Linked DNA regions of Homo sapiens: region 2 is linked to region 1. Evidence: promoter capture Hi-C in 16 types of primary human blood cells and fetal thymus (Javierre and others, 2016). All regions are on one chromosome and are shown on one strand. Each heading gives the region's core, a stretch centred on a gene start or on the middle of the fragment in contact. The rest is flanking DNA. Distances are from core to core; before and after follow the strand shown.

Region 1 (5,637 bases), core at 22-2,521:
TTGAGTTCCAAGTCACCAATAATTAGTAAACCTTGGGCAAATCACTTAGTGTCTGGCACCTCAGTTTTCTCAATACAAACATGAAAATAAAAATCCTTCCCTAAACACATTTCTCCCCATTTCCGAAAACTTCAGAAGTTAATGAGATCGACCTTTGAAAGAAATGTGTAAGCTGTAAAGCATTATGCAAAAGTTAGTAATTACATAAGGAAGCAATTAAAATAGGGGTAATATGTTTTATAGCTTAAGAAATACATCCCACAGATAAGACTGTCTATACATATTGTATCCAGCAATGATTATTCATGCTTCCTGGAGATATGCCTGTAATTTGAATACTTTGTCATCAGGGATGTAATAGGACAAAGGTTTGATATTATGATCTGAAAATAATAATAATAATAATTAGCTATTTAGCACTTAGTATGGAACATTCAATGGGCCAGTGCTCATGTTGCACCACAGATCAATTAAATCAGAACATCTACGGGTAGAACCCAGGTATCAATCCTTTGTAAATGCCCCGTGTGATTATAATGTATAGCCAATGCTGAGAACCACTGCCTTAGGACCTCAGGTCAAGTAAGAAATTAAGAACAAATTCCAGACTCTTAATGACAATTCACATTTTTTATAGGCACTGAGTATTTGAAAAAAGATTTCTAAATATGCATTATCCTGTGTTATTTTTACAACCACCTTTGGAATCAATATTAATTTCTTCATCTTTCAGACATAGAAATTGATGTGTCAGCCAATGACACAGCTTGTAACTACCCTATCACCCTGACACTGCGTAAATTTCAGATAGGTATTTACATGTTCACATTCAGTGAATATTTAGGAATTATATACATGACAAAGGAAGTTTATTTCTAAAGCAAAATCCATCCCCAACTACAAAATATGAAATATACTACTTATCTACAATGTAGAGATTCTCAAACTTTACTATGCAACACCATCACCAGAAAGATTGTTAATACATAGATTGCTGGGCCCCATATCCAGAGTTTCTGATTAATTAGGTGTGAGCTGAGGCCTGAGAATTTGCATCTCTAAAAAACTCCAGGTAATGTCAGTGCTGCTGGTCCAGGGACTACCCTTTGAGAAACACTGCCCCAGGATGCTTTAGAAAAATGTGCATGGTAAAAGATCCAGACCTTGGCCTGCTTTCCTCCCATCTTCATGATCCCTGAAACACTCACGCTGGTCTTCCTGCAAAGAAGACCAGCAAATAGCAGGACGAGGGGAGGAGGGCGGGGAGGATGCATCAGCAGAGAGCCCAGGATGTTTCACTAGCACCAAAGGCTCAAGACTAGCCGTCCAAGATTAGCCTTTTAATGGGGTTCTTGTCTCCCATGCATCCCTGCAGGCCTCCCACCCAGAGGAGAATGGCTGCAGGAAATCACTCTACAGTGACAGAGTTCATTCTCAAGGGTTTAACGAAGAGAGCAGACCTCCAGCTCCCCCTCTTTCTCCTCTTCCTCGGGATCTACTTGGTCACCATCGTGGGGAACCTGGGCATGATCACTCTAATTTGTCTGAACTCTCAGCTGCACACCCCCATGTACTACTTTCTCAGCAATCTGTCACTCATGGATCTCTGCTACTCCTCCGTCATTACCCCTAAGATGCTGGTGAACTTTGTGTCAGAGAAAAACATCATCTCCTACGCAGGGTGCATGTCACAGCTCTACTTCTTCCTTGTTTTTGTCATTGCTGAGTGTTACATGCTGACAGTGATGGCCTACGACCGCTATGTTGCCATCTGCCACCCTTTGCTTTACAACATCATTATGTCTCATCACACCTGCCTGCTGCTGGTGGCTGTGGTCTACGCCATCGGACTCATTGGCTCCACAATAGAAACTGGCCTCATGTTAAAACTGCCCTATTGTGAGCACCTCATCAGTCACTACTTCTGTGACATCCTCCCTCTCATGAAGCTGTCCTGCTCTAGCACCTATGATGTTGAGATGACAGTCTTCTTTTCGGCTGGATTCAACATCATAGTCACGAGCTTAACAGTTCTTGTTTCTTACACCTTCATTCTCTCCAGCATCCTCGGCATCAGCACCACAGAGGGGAGATCCAAAGCCTTCAGCACCTGCAGCTCCCACCTTGCAGCCGTGGGAATGTTCTATGGATCAACTGCATTCATGTACTTAAAACCCTCCACAATCAGTTCCTTGACCCAGGAGAATGTGGCCTCTGTGTTCTACACCACGGTAATCCCCATGTTGAATCCCCTAATCTACAGCCTGAGGAACAAGGAAGTAAAGGCTGCCGTGCAGAAAACGCTGAGGGGTAAACTGTTTTGATGCAAATGTTATTGTTCCTTTTCAATTTAGTGGTAATTGTTATAAATACCAGAGTGACAGCTTCTGAATGCTGGCCAGCTGTGGATGGAAAATAATCACTTCTCCACATGGCTGGGTGAATGGGCATTTTTCCTTCTTTCCTCTTCCTTCCCTCTTCCTTTCCTCTTCCTTCCTCTTCCTTCCTTCCTCTTCTTTCCTCTTCCTTCCCTCCCTCTTTTTTCACTTCTCTTTGAAGCCAGCCAACTTCAGGTTCAGGTTTTCTTTCACTTGAGATCCATCCCTCTACCCCAAGCCCTTTAATAAATGTTTCCTATCTTAATTGTAATTTAACTTAAATGCTAAACTTTCAACATTGAGTTTTAGGGTCATTCATGGTCTTATTATCTTCTATATAGAAAATATTACTCAGCCCAATTTTTTTCTTTTTTTTTTTCTTTTTGGTGACAGAGTCTCACTCCAGCCCAGGCTGGAGTACAGTGGCACGATCTCGGCTCACTGCAACCTCCGCCTCCCAGGTTCAAGTGATTCTCCTGCCTTAGCCTCCCGAGTAGCTGGGATTATAGGCATCTGCCACCATGCCCAGCTAATTTTTGTATTTTTAGTAGAGACGGGGTTTCACCATGTTTGCCAGGCTGGTCTTGAACTCCTGACCTCAAGTGAGCCACCTGCCTTGGCCTCCCAAAGTGCTGGAATTACAGGTGTGAGGCACTGCGCCTGGCCAATTTTTTTTCTTTTTGTACTTGGGAACAAATGAGGCAAAGAGAGGCAAAGTATCTCTACTTACCCCTGCCCAAGAATTTCCTGATCTCTTTATGTAATTTTCTTAGTAACACTAATAATAATGATAACAGCAGCTAACATGTTTTTGGATGCTGACTCTGATCCATGCAATTCTTCTACGTGCTTTCTATTCTATTTCAATTATACTACACAACAAGTAGGTACTATTCTATTCTCATTTCACAGATATGGAACTTGGAGCAGGAGTAACAACACTGAGATTCAAACCCCAGTCCAAGTGGCTTCCAGAGCCCAGACTCTGGGCACTCACACATTACTTCCTTCACTTTAGTCTAGCCGTCCCTTTGAACAGCCTATTAAACCTCCCATAATTATGCTCATCCAATTTCAAATTGGATGAAAATAATTTCTTCTGAAAATAATTTCTCAAATCCCTTCCTTTTATCATCTGCCCAAACCTCTTTCTCTTTATGGGCAACAACTATAATAGGATGGGAAAAGATGCCTAACTAGCATATATAATAATAAACCCTAGCAAACCAGCAAGAAAAAGACATCAACTTTAGCAAGAAAAAAAATGAGCAAGGTATATAGAACAATTTACAAAAGAGAAAACCTGAAGTACCACAGAGCATGTGAAGAGATGCTCAAACCGATTACTAAACATAGAAGCGCAAATTAAAACAGTGATATATCTTTTTACGTTTATAAGATTAGCACAAATTTTAAAAGCTGGATGGTGCTAAGTGTTAGTAAGGAGGTAGGGATTTAGGAACCCCCATATACTACAGCTATTCTGGAAAACAGTAAGACATTACTTAGGAAAAATAAGTATAGGTATCCACAGGGCATAGCAAATCTGGTCCAAGGTATATATAGTCCCAAATCATTCTCTTTCAGGCCTATAAGATGGCATGTACAAAGGCATTCATTATACCATTATTTTTGGCGATGGGAACTTAGAGATAAAATAAGTGTCCACCATTGGGAAAGTAAGTAGATAAATTGTATCTACTTACTTACAATTTATAGACTCTTCAACAGTTAGAAGCAAAGGATTAGCTATACACAATATAGTTTAGAGGTATAGTGCTGTGTGAGAAAAGTAAGAAAGATAATGAGATATAAAACATATTATTTATGTATATTAAAATTGCATGTGCACACACCCCAAAAAAAGCACACTTAGAAAGAAAAAAGACCATAACGTAAAATACACATTAGGCAGGTCAGAATGGCTGCTGAGAGAGATAAGATGCACGAAAGAAGGGAGTAGAAAAAAGATGAAGCAGAAAACCAAGAAAGACCACATTCTGGACCATAAAACACACCTTAACTGATTTAAAGAAATAGAAATCATACAATGTCTGCTGTCTGCTCTCAGACCACAATGAAATTAAACGAGAAATCAATAACAGAAAGATAACTGAAAAATCATTAAATATTTTGAAATTAAACAACACATTTCTAAATAGCACATGAGTCAAAGAAGAAAATCTCAAGAGAAATTTTAAAATATTTTGAATGAAACGAAAATGAAAATGCAACTAATCAAAACTTGTGGGATGCAGCAAAAGCAGAGTTTAGAGGGAAGTTTACAGCATTGAATGTTTACAGCACTGAATGTTTACAGCATTGAATGTTTACAGCATTGAATGCCTTCGCAAAGAAAACGATCTAAAATCAATCACCTAGACTTCCAACTTAAGAAACTAGGTTGGAGAATGGCAAATTAAATCCAAAGTTAGCAGAAGAAAACAAAAAAAATTAGAGAAAAATCAATAATATTTAAAACAGAAAATCAACGGAGGAAAATCAATGAAACCAAAAGCTGATTCTTTGAAAAGATCAATAGAATTGATAAGCCTCTAGCCAGGATAACTGGTAAAAAAAAAAAAAAAAGGACACAAATTACTAGTGTCAGAAATGAAAGAAGGACATCAGTATAGGTCCTATGAACATTTAAAAAAAGAAGAATTACTATGAACAACTCTATGCCTACAGACTTAATAACCTAGATGAAATGGACCAAATCCTGGAAAGATGTAATCTGTCAAAACTCACATAAGAAGAAATAGACAAGCTGAATAGGCCTATATCTATTAAAGAAACTGACTTAATAATTAGCAGCCTTTCAAAACAGAAAACACCAGGTTCAAATGGGTTCACTGGTGAATTCTACCAAACATTTTAAAGAAAGATATTATACCAATTCTCTACAATCTCTTCCAGAAGATTGAAGCAGAGGGAATACTTCCTAACTCATTCTTTGAGGCCAGCATCACCCTAATACCAAAATCTGACAAAAAATTTATAAGAAAGGGAAGCTACAGACCAGCATCTATCATGAACAGAGATAATAAATTCCTCAACAAAATATTAGCAAATTGAATGCAACAATGTATTCAACAACTATACACCATAACCAAGTGCAATTTATCCCAAGTGTGTGAGGCTGGTTCAACATTTGAAAATCAATTAAGGTAATCCAAATCCACATCAACAGGCTAAAGAAGAAAAATCACATGTTGATATCAATAGATATAGAAAAAAAATTTGACAAAATTCCTCA
Region 2 (6,434 bases), core at 166-2,665, 490 kb before region 1:
AGGGTGGTGGGCTTTGGGGGCCTGGGGAGAGGGTGCTCCTTCTTGTCCTTGTCCCTGGCTCCCAGCGGCTCCGTGGAGGATGGCACTGCCTCAGGCCCAGCTCCACCTCCTCCCTGCACCCTCCCAGCAGTTGCTGCAGATGAGAGCGGCGATGGGACCAGGGTCCAGAGCAATGGAGGCTCCGTGCCTGGGAGCGGGTTCTGCCGGCTGCGGAAGGATAGGGGTGGCACAGTCAGCCGCCTTGGGGACACAGGACATAGGGGACCCACCACCGCCACTGCCGCTCCCGCAGCAGCTCGTGCCGCCACCACCCACGCCTCCTTGCTGCAGCCAGCGTGACGACAGCGGCTGCTCCGGACCACCCGCAAGCGGCCATCACGGCAAGGGACTAACCGTCGTGTAACTACTGTCTGCCACAAAAATCTCTATTATTATCTTTAAAGGGAAACTTCTTCTTAAACTAAAAATGCTTTTGTTCCTAATATATTGGGACATCGGGACATTTCCTGGGTCTGTTGTTTCCTGGGTCTGTTTGGTAAACCTTGTTAACCTGTTCCCTTCACTATAAACATCCTGTGACTTAGAATGCCTAGCCTCTTGGGAAGGCATCCCAGCAGCTTCCTCATTTTACCCAGCCCCTGTTCAAGAGGGAGTCTCTCTGGTTCCAACACCTCTGACAGTTTTGAAGAGAAAAAAATAATCCTCTTGAATAAATCTTCTGATAATTCTCACCTAATGTGATTGGAATCTACTGGGCCTACTAGATGGAGCTTGTTGAAAGAGAGGGGAGCTCTATGAGCTCCCAAAATACGTCAAAAAATAAAAATTAGAGAACAAAAAGAAAGATTTCCAAGGGGTGATATAAAATAGGAATTGGAGGATGGAGAAACAATAGCACACCTACCTCTAGAATTTCATAAAACCGGGATATGATACCTAGAGAAACTGTTGCAAATTATCAATTTTTAATTTTCTTTATTTAAAAGAAAATCTTTGTATGTTACTTCTGGGTGATTCTCAGAACTAAATCTGGTTTAGTAATTTATTTTCGTTAGTCTGATATTCAGTTATCATGTTAAAATTTTTGCTATAATGTATTAATTTTATAAGATTTCTATGGGCATCTTGTCATAACTTTTGCTTGCCTTGTTTCAGCATTTTCTATTTTTGTTTCAAAATAATATTTTTCCTTTTATGGTCTCCTTAACACTTATATTTTAAATTCTTTGAGATGTGGTAGTCCATCTTCTTTCTTTTTCTCTCTTTCTTTCTCTCCTTCTTTCTTTCCTTCTTTCTTTTTCTCTTTCTCTTTTTCTTTTCTTTCTTTTCCTTTCTCTCTCTCTCTCCTTCTTTCCTTCTTTCCTTCTTTTTTTGAGACAGGATCTCACTCTGTTGCCCAGGCTGCACAGTGGCACAGCTCACTGCAGCTTCAACCTCCCTGGGATCGGGTCATTCTCTCACCTCAGTCTCCCCAGTGGCTGGGACTACAGGCATCTCCACCACACAGCTAATTTTTGTATTTTTTGTAGATGGGGGTTTTGCCATGTTGCACAGTCTGGTCTCAAACTTCTGGCTCAGCCAATCCACCTGCCTTGGCCTCCCAGAGTATTTCTATCTCTTAAGCTGTAAATTGTTCTGATTTTAGAGTTTGTTGTGTGTGTTTTAAGAGTGTTAGTTTCCATACATCTTTTGATCATAACTTCTGCACAGTTCTCATTTGCGAGTCCCTCCTGGATTATTCTCTAGCACAACCCCTGACCCTGGTGAGGTGTGGCACCGGCCTCACAGCCTGCTTGGCTAGTGGATTTCTGGCTCCATCCTTGCTGGAGCAGCTTTGGTCTTCAGTCTCAGATGGGTGGTGTTGGTGCCCTGATTCAGGATCTTCTGGGTTTTTTTCATAGTTTGAGAGTGGCATAAACAACACTCAATGTGCCTATTTCCTACTGTCTCACTCAATAGCAATAATCCACATGGGGGACTTCTGTTGTGGGGAGAGGGTTCCCCACACACCAAGTGACCAATCAATTCTGCTGCAGACACTAGTTGGGTGTCCTCCAGTTCAATTCTGACACTGTCAGCCTAGAGGTAGCATCAGATCCCACAGGTTGAGGGCTCAGTCCCCAAGAAAGACTGCCCTCCCAAACCCCCCCACCCCCCGCCCCAGTTAGGCTCCAGTCACAAGTCAGGGCCTCTGGAAATGCTGGCGTAGGGTTGGGGTTCCTGCAACCCCCCTTTTTGGGCTCGATTATTTTGCTAGTGGCTCATAGAACTCAGGAAAACACTTTTTATACTTACCAGTTTATTTTAAAGGATTCTACAAGGGATACAGATGAAGAGATGTGGAGGGTGAGATATCAGGGAAGGGGTGAGGATCTTCCCTGCCCTTCCCAGGTACAGTACCTTCCAGGAACCTCCATGTGCTCAGCTATCCAGAAGCTCTCTGAACCCTGTTTTCTGGGGCCTTTTATAGAGCTTCATTGGTTAGGCAAGATCAAAGCATGGGCAACCATGTAGAAATATGATTGGAACACAAGGGTATGATCTAACACTAATAGACTGAGTGGGGAAACCTAGCAAGGCCTGCCTGTTCAGATTCCTTTTGGCCTCTCTGTGCAGCGTTCCATCCTCCTGGGTACAGGACCAGACCCTCTCTGGAATGACAGTTTTATGACCCCAGATCAGAAAGGCAGGGGAAGATCAGAGTCCCGCTTGGGCTGGTGAGAAGAGAGCAGGAAAAGGCCAGAGAGATTCTGTTTTCTGAGGCCTAACTGCCCCAACATTATAACAAAAGACCACAGCTGGAGCTATGGGAGTTATAAGCCAGGAACCATGAATGAAAACTTATATATTTTTTATATATAAGATATTACAGGCCGGGTGCAGTGGCTCACGCCTGTAATCCCAGCACTTTGGGAGGCCAAGGTGGGTGGATCACCTGAGGTCAGGAGTTCAAGAGCAGCCTGGCCAACATGGTGAAACCCCTACTCCACTAAAAATAAAAAAATTACCCAGGCGTGGTGGCGGGCATCTGTAGTCCCAGCTACTCGGGAGGCTTAGGCAGGAGAATCACTTGAACCCGGGAGGGGGAGGTTTCAGTGAGCAGAGATCGTTCCACTGCACTCCAGCCTGGGTGACAGAGCCAGATTCAGTCTCAAAAAAAAAAAAAATCACAATAGAGAATCATTTTTTTCTTGTTTTCAGTTGTAGTTAGTATTTATTCCATTTTCACTGTAATTTCTCTATGTTTAGAAAAAGAGATCAAAGTTTTAGTACACACTCTTTCTTCTAAAATCAAAAGCCCCATTTTTTTCATGATGATTTCCTAAGACTTCGATACTTTTATTTTTCTAACACTCTGCAATGACAAGTGGTAAACTCTTTGGAATTAAAAGGAGGTGGCATGTGTGACTCATTTGAACATAACTACACTGGGAATTATGTGTCTTTTTCATATTCTCTGCCAAAGAGAATAAAGCGTAGGTGAGAAAAAGTGAAAAGTGATAGTTGGGATAAAAGTAAACAGTAGACTGATTCTATAGGCCCTGTAAATAATTAAAATGGTTGCATAGCAAACAATGTCAGGAACGAGTAGACACAAGAGTATTAATGAGCTGGAGGCCAGCATGGGTCTTCAGGAACGGAGCACTGGAAAATATAACAGCTGTGCTCTGTCATGCAGCGGTGAGATCATGTGTTGTGTGTCTTAAGGAGATAAGAGGAAACTGGCCCGCATCTCAATTCAACATTCAGTATTTGACAAGATATCTCACTTTCCATCTTATTATCACCTATCATCACTGAAGACTTTTAATGCCCTTAATGCCACTTAAGATTAGGTACATTTTCATTTCTGACCATTTCTCTGGTTATTTCATTCCTATGTAGGTTTTGCTAGAATAATTCGGAGTTCTTTGGAGATTTGCTACTGTTGACCCAATAACTGTCATTAAGAGGATCTTATATTTTACCCTTCCCTAGGTAGATGCAATCTAGTTCCACTGAGAAACTCTACTGAGTCTTCTGATTGGGTCCTAGGAAGAGAAAGAGAGAATCGATGGCATGGGAAATCTAATCCTGAAGTTCTTTCCCCATGTAACTCTGCGTTCCTAAGGCCACAGTGTAACCTAAGCTTTAGCCTTCCCTCCCTGTTGTTGGGTCATCTTCTCCAGGGACATAATGGGAAAGGCTTTATCTAATGTCTTTTCTCATTTACCTCCCTGGAAGGTGTCCCTTCAGTACTGTGTGTCCTTGGTGCTGCTGAGCTCTGTCTGGCTCTCTGATCGTTTCAACACCTGGCACCCCTGGAGAGGCTACCGAGGAGAGAATGCGGGTGAGCTGCCACCAGTGGAGCTCTGAGGTTATCACAGCCTGATAAACGAACTCACAGGACACTCCCAATCCAATACGGCGCTGATGGGGTTTAAGACACTGATGCAGATGAGAAGCACAACTGCACAGCATATGTACTTCTAGTGAGAATTCATCAAATATCCCAGGCATGGCTTCCAGACCCCACCACTGTGTGGCCCATGCTTGTTTGTGAAAGGTGAGTCAAATATGTGAGGATTCTTCAGCACAAGGAAGCTGGCATTGCATATGAATCATGTGGATCCTTCCTGGGCGTGTGACCTGCTCTGTTTCACTGCAGCCCATCACATGAGTTACATCATATGGTAAGGAATCTCAACAACCAGGTTCTGTTGCTCTCAGTATCCTCAGAACATTGCACAGAACTTGGCAACCTTTAAAATATGCCTCATTTATGATCAGTTGAGCAGGTTCTTCATCTAGGTAGTGTGATCCATTTGGACATCTCTGGGTCCGTAGATGAGTTTGACAGTCCAGCTGATGAGGCCTCTCCCTTCAGTGAAACGGACCGCACTTCCCCCTCATGTTTATTTTTCTTCATCCTTCACAATATCACCCATGGGTTGTGAATATATACCAGATGTTTTAATAGGTGTGATACAGAGAATTCTATAAAATAAACACTGCAATATTCGTTTTTTCATGAAAAATTCACCCAAGATGTTAAACCCTTCGCAGAATCAGATATGCCCAGTGTTTAATCTTGCTTCATTCCCTTCATGCCCACATCGTTCTGAAAATTCTTCTTCTAACCCGTTTCTATAACTAGTAATCAAATTTCTAGAAAGCCTAATCCCTACCCATGAGACTGAATTTCACCCTGACCTTCATCACGCTACATCCAGCAGCACTGACTTCCACCAGTTTGTTTCAATATTCCTCTTTGCTACCTATGAGCCACCTGCTTAGCCTTACAAATCTCCCATGGGAAAACATTAATTTTTCAGAATCAGTAAAGCCTGTGTTGATGAGAAGAAACATATAGTTTAAGCCGTGATAATTTGCAAGATTGCCTCTCTCACCATGGAATTAGTGTCTCGCCTTATTGGGCAGAGCACTATCAATTTCTTTTCTACATTCTCCCTTTCAATTCTGCCTCCTTATTGTACATAAAAATAAGCAATAGGCTTAAGAGTGAGTCACACACTTTTCAATTGCCTCCTACTGGATGCTTTAACATTTTGATGAAATCCTCAGGCCAGCAGTTCAGTAACAGAAGTCAGCATGCATTAGAAAAAAAACCAATATTTTATTTAAACAACATTCCTTGAATTTTCCTCTTACGAATAGAAAAAAAAAGCTGGATCAAAGATAATCTAAGATAATTCTCACCATATGAACACAAAGAGATGCAATATCATTATGATAATTGAGGTGAATTTTTCTCTATATAGCTTAGCTTTATTCCAAAAAAGGAATCCTGCCTTATGCAGAAAATCTTCTTAATTTTTATTCATGTACAGAAATTGAAAAATGTTTAATTTTGAGTAAGCTTTCTTCTAAAAAATGTTTAGATTCAGTGTTCTGACGTAAGGGAGATTATGATTTTTAGTGGATGTTTTTGCAGTGATATAGGTTCTCTTCCAAGGCTTCTTCCGTAGAAATCAGAAAAGGACCAAAAATTGTTTACTTTGCAGGCAAATCCAATGATAAATAGCAATTTAATATCTGCTATGCGCATAAGCTATATTTACTTTAAAAGCATGGGTACTAGCAAATTTTCATACTAAGATACAGGGTTTAGGAATGAAGTTAAAGACACAGTACTATTTAATGCGAAGTTTTTTTGAAAGCTGCTAAGAAAAGAATATTCAAAATTCCTTTAGAAGTTCATCATCTTCTCATTTATTTTCATGAATAAAGTTTGTTCTTTAAATATTTTATGTGAAGCTTGTTTCACACTTTCATTTCTCAGGCTAGAAATCAAGGAGTTCAAGGAGATGGTCACACACAAGTTCGGTCTCTGAATCACAGAATCGCAGAGAGCTCTCGGTCTGAGCTTCTGTCCATGGCCACAAAGAGTTGCAGACTGCAGGTTGAGCAATGCAGGTTGAGAAAGCAAAGAG

What was found. Contacts are between HindIII fragments. The CHiCAGO score rates a contact against its expected background, and 5 or more counts as called.
Region 2: a fragment that was not itself captured here is called in contact with the fragment with the promoter of OR8A1 in region 1 in 1 of 17 cell types (total B cells); the score reaches 5.3 in total B cells.

Annotation. Positions count from the first base shown.
Region 1 is chr11:124,568,726-124,574,362 of GRCh38, forward strand. It overlaps OR8A1 (olfactory receptor family 8 subfamily A member 1), which reads left to right and starts at 1,272. Exons shown (of 1, transcript NM_001005194.2): 1 at 1,272-2,649. The coding sequence starts at 1,395. The coding sequence ends at 2,324. The HindIII fragment of the contact is 5,869 bases long and covers 1-5,637 here.
Region 2 is chr11:124,076,169-124,082,602 of GRCh38, forward strand. LOC105369545 (a long non-coding RNA gene) reads right to left here. Exons shown (of 2, transcript XR_948127.3): 2 at 6,189-6,434. Among named protein-coding and RNA genes, the nearest start is that of VWA5A, 36 kb to the right of the region's middle. The HindIII fragment of the contact is 5,423 bases long and covers 1-4,127 here.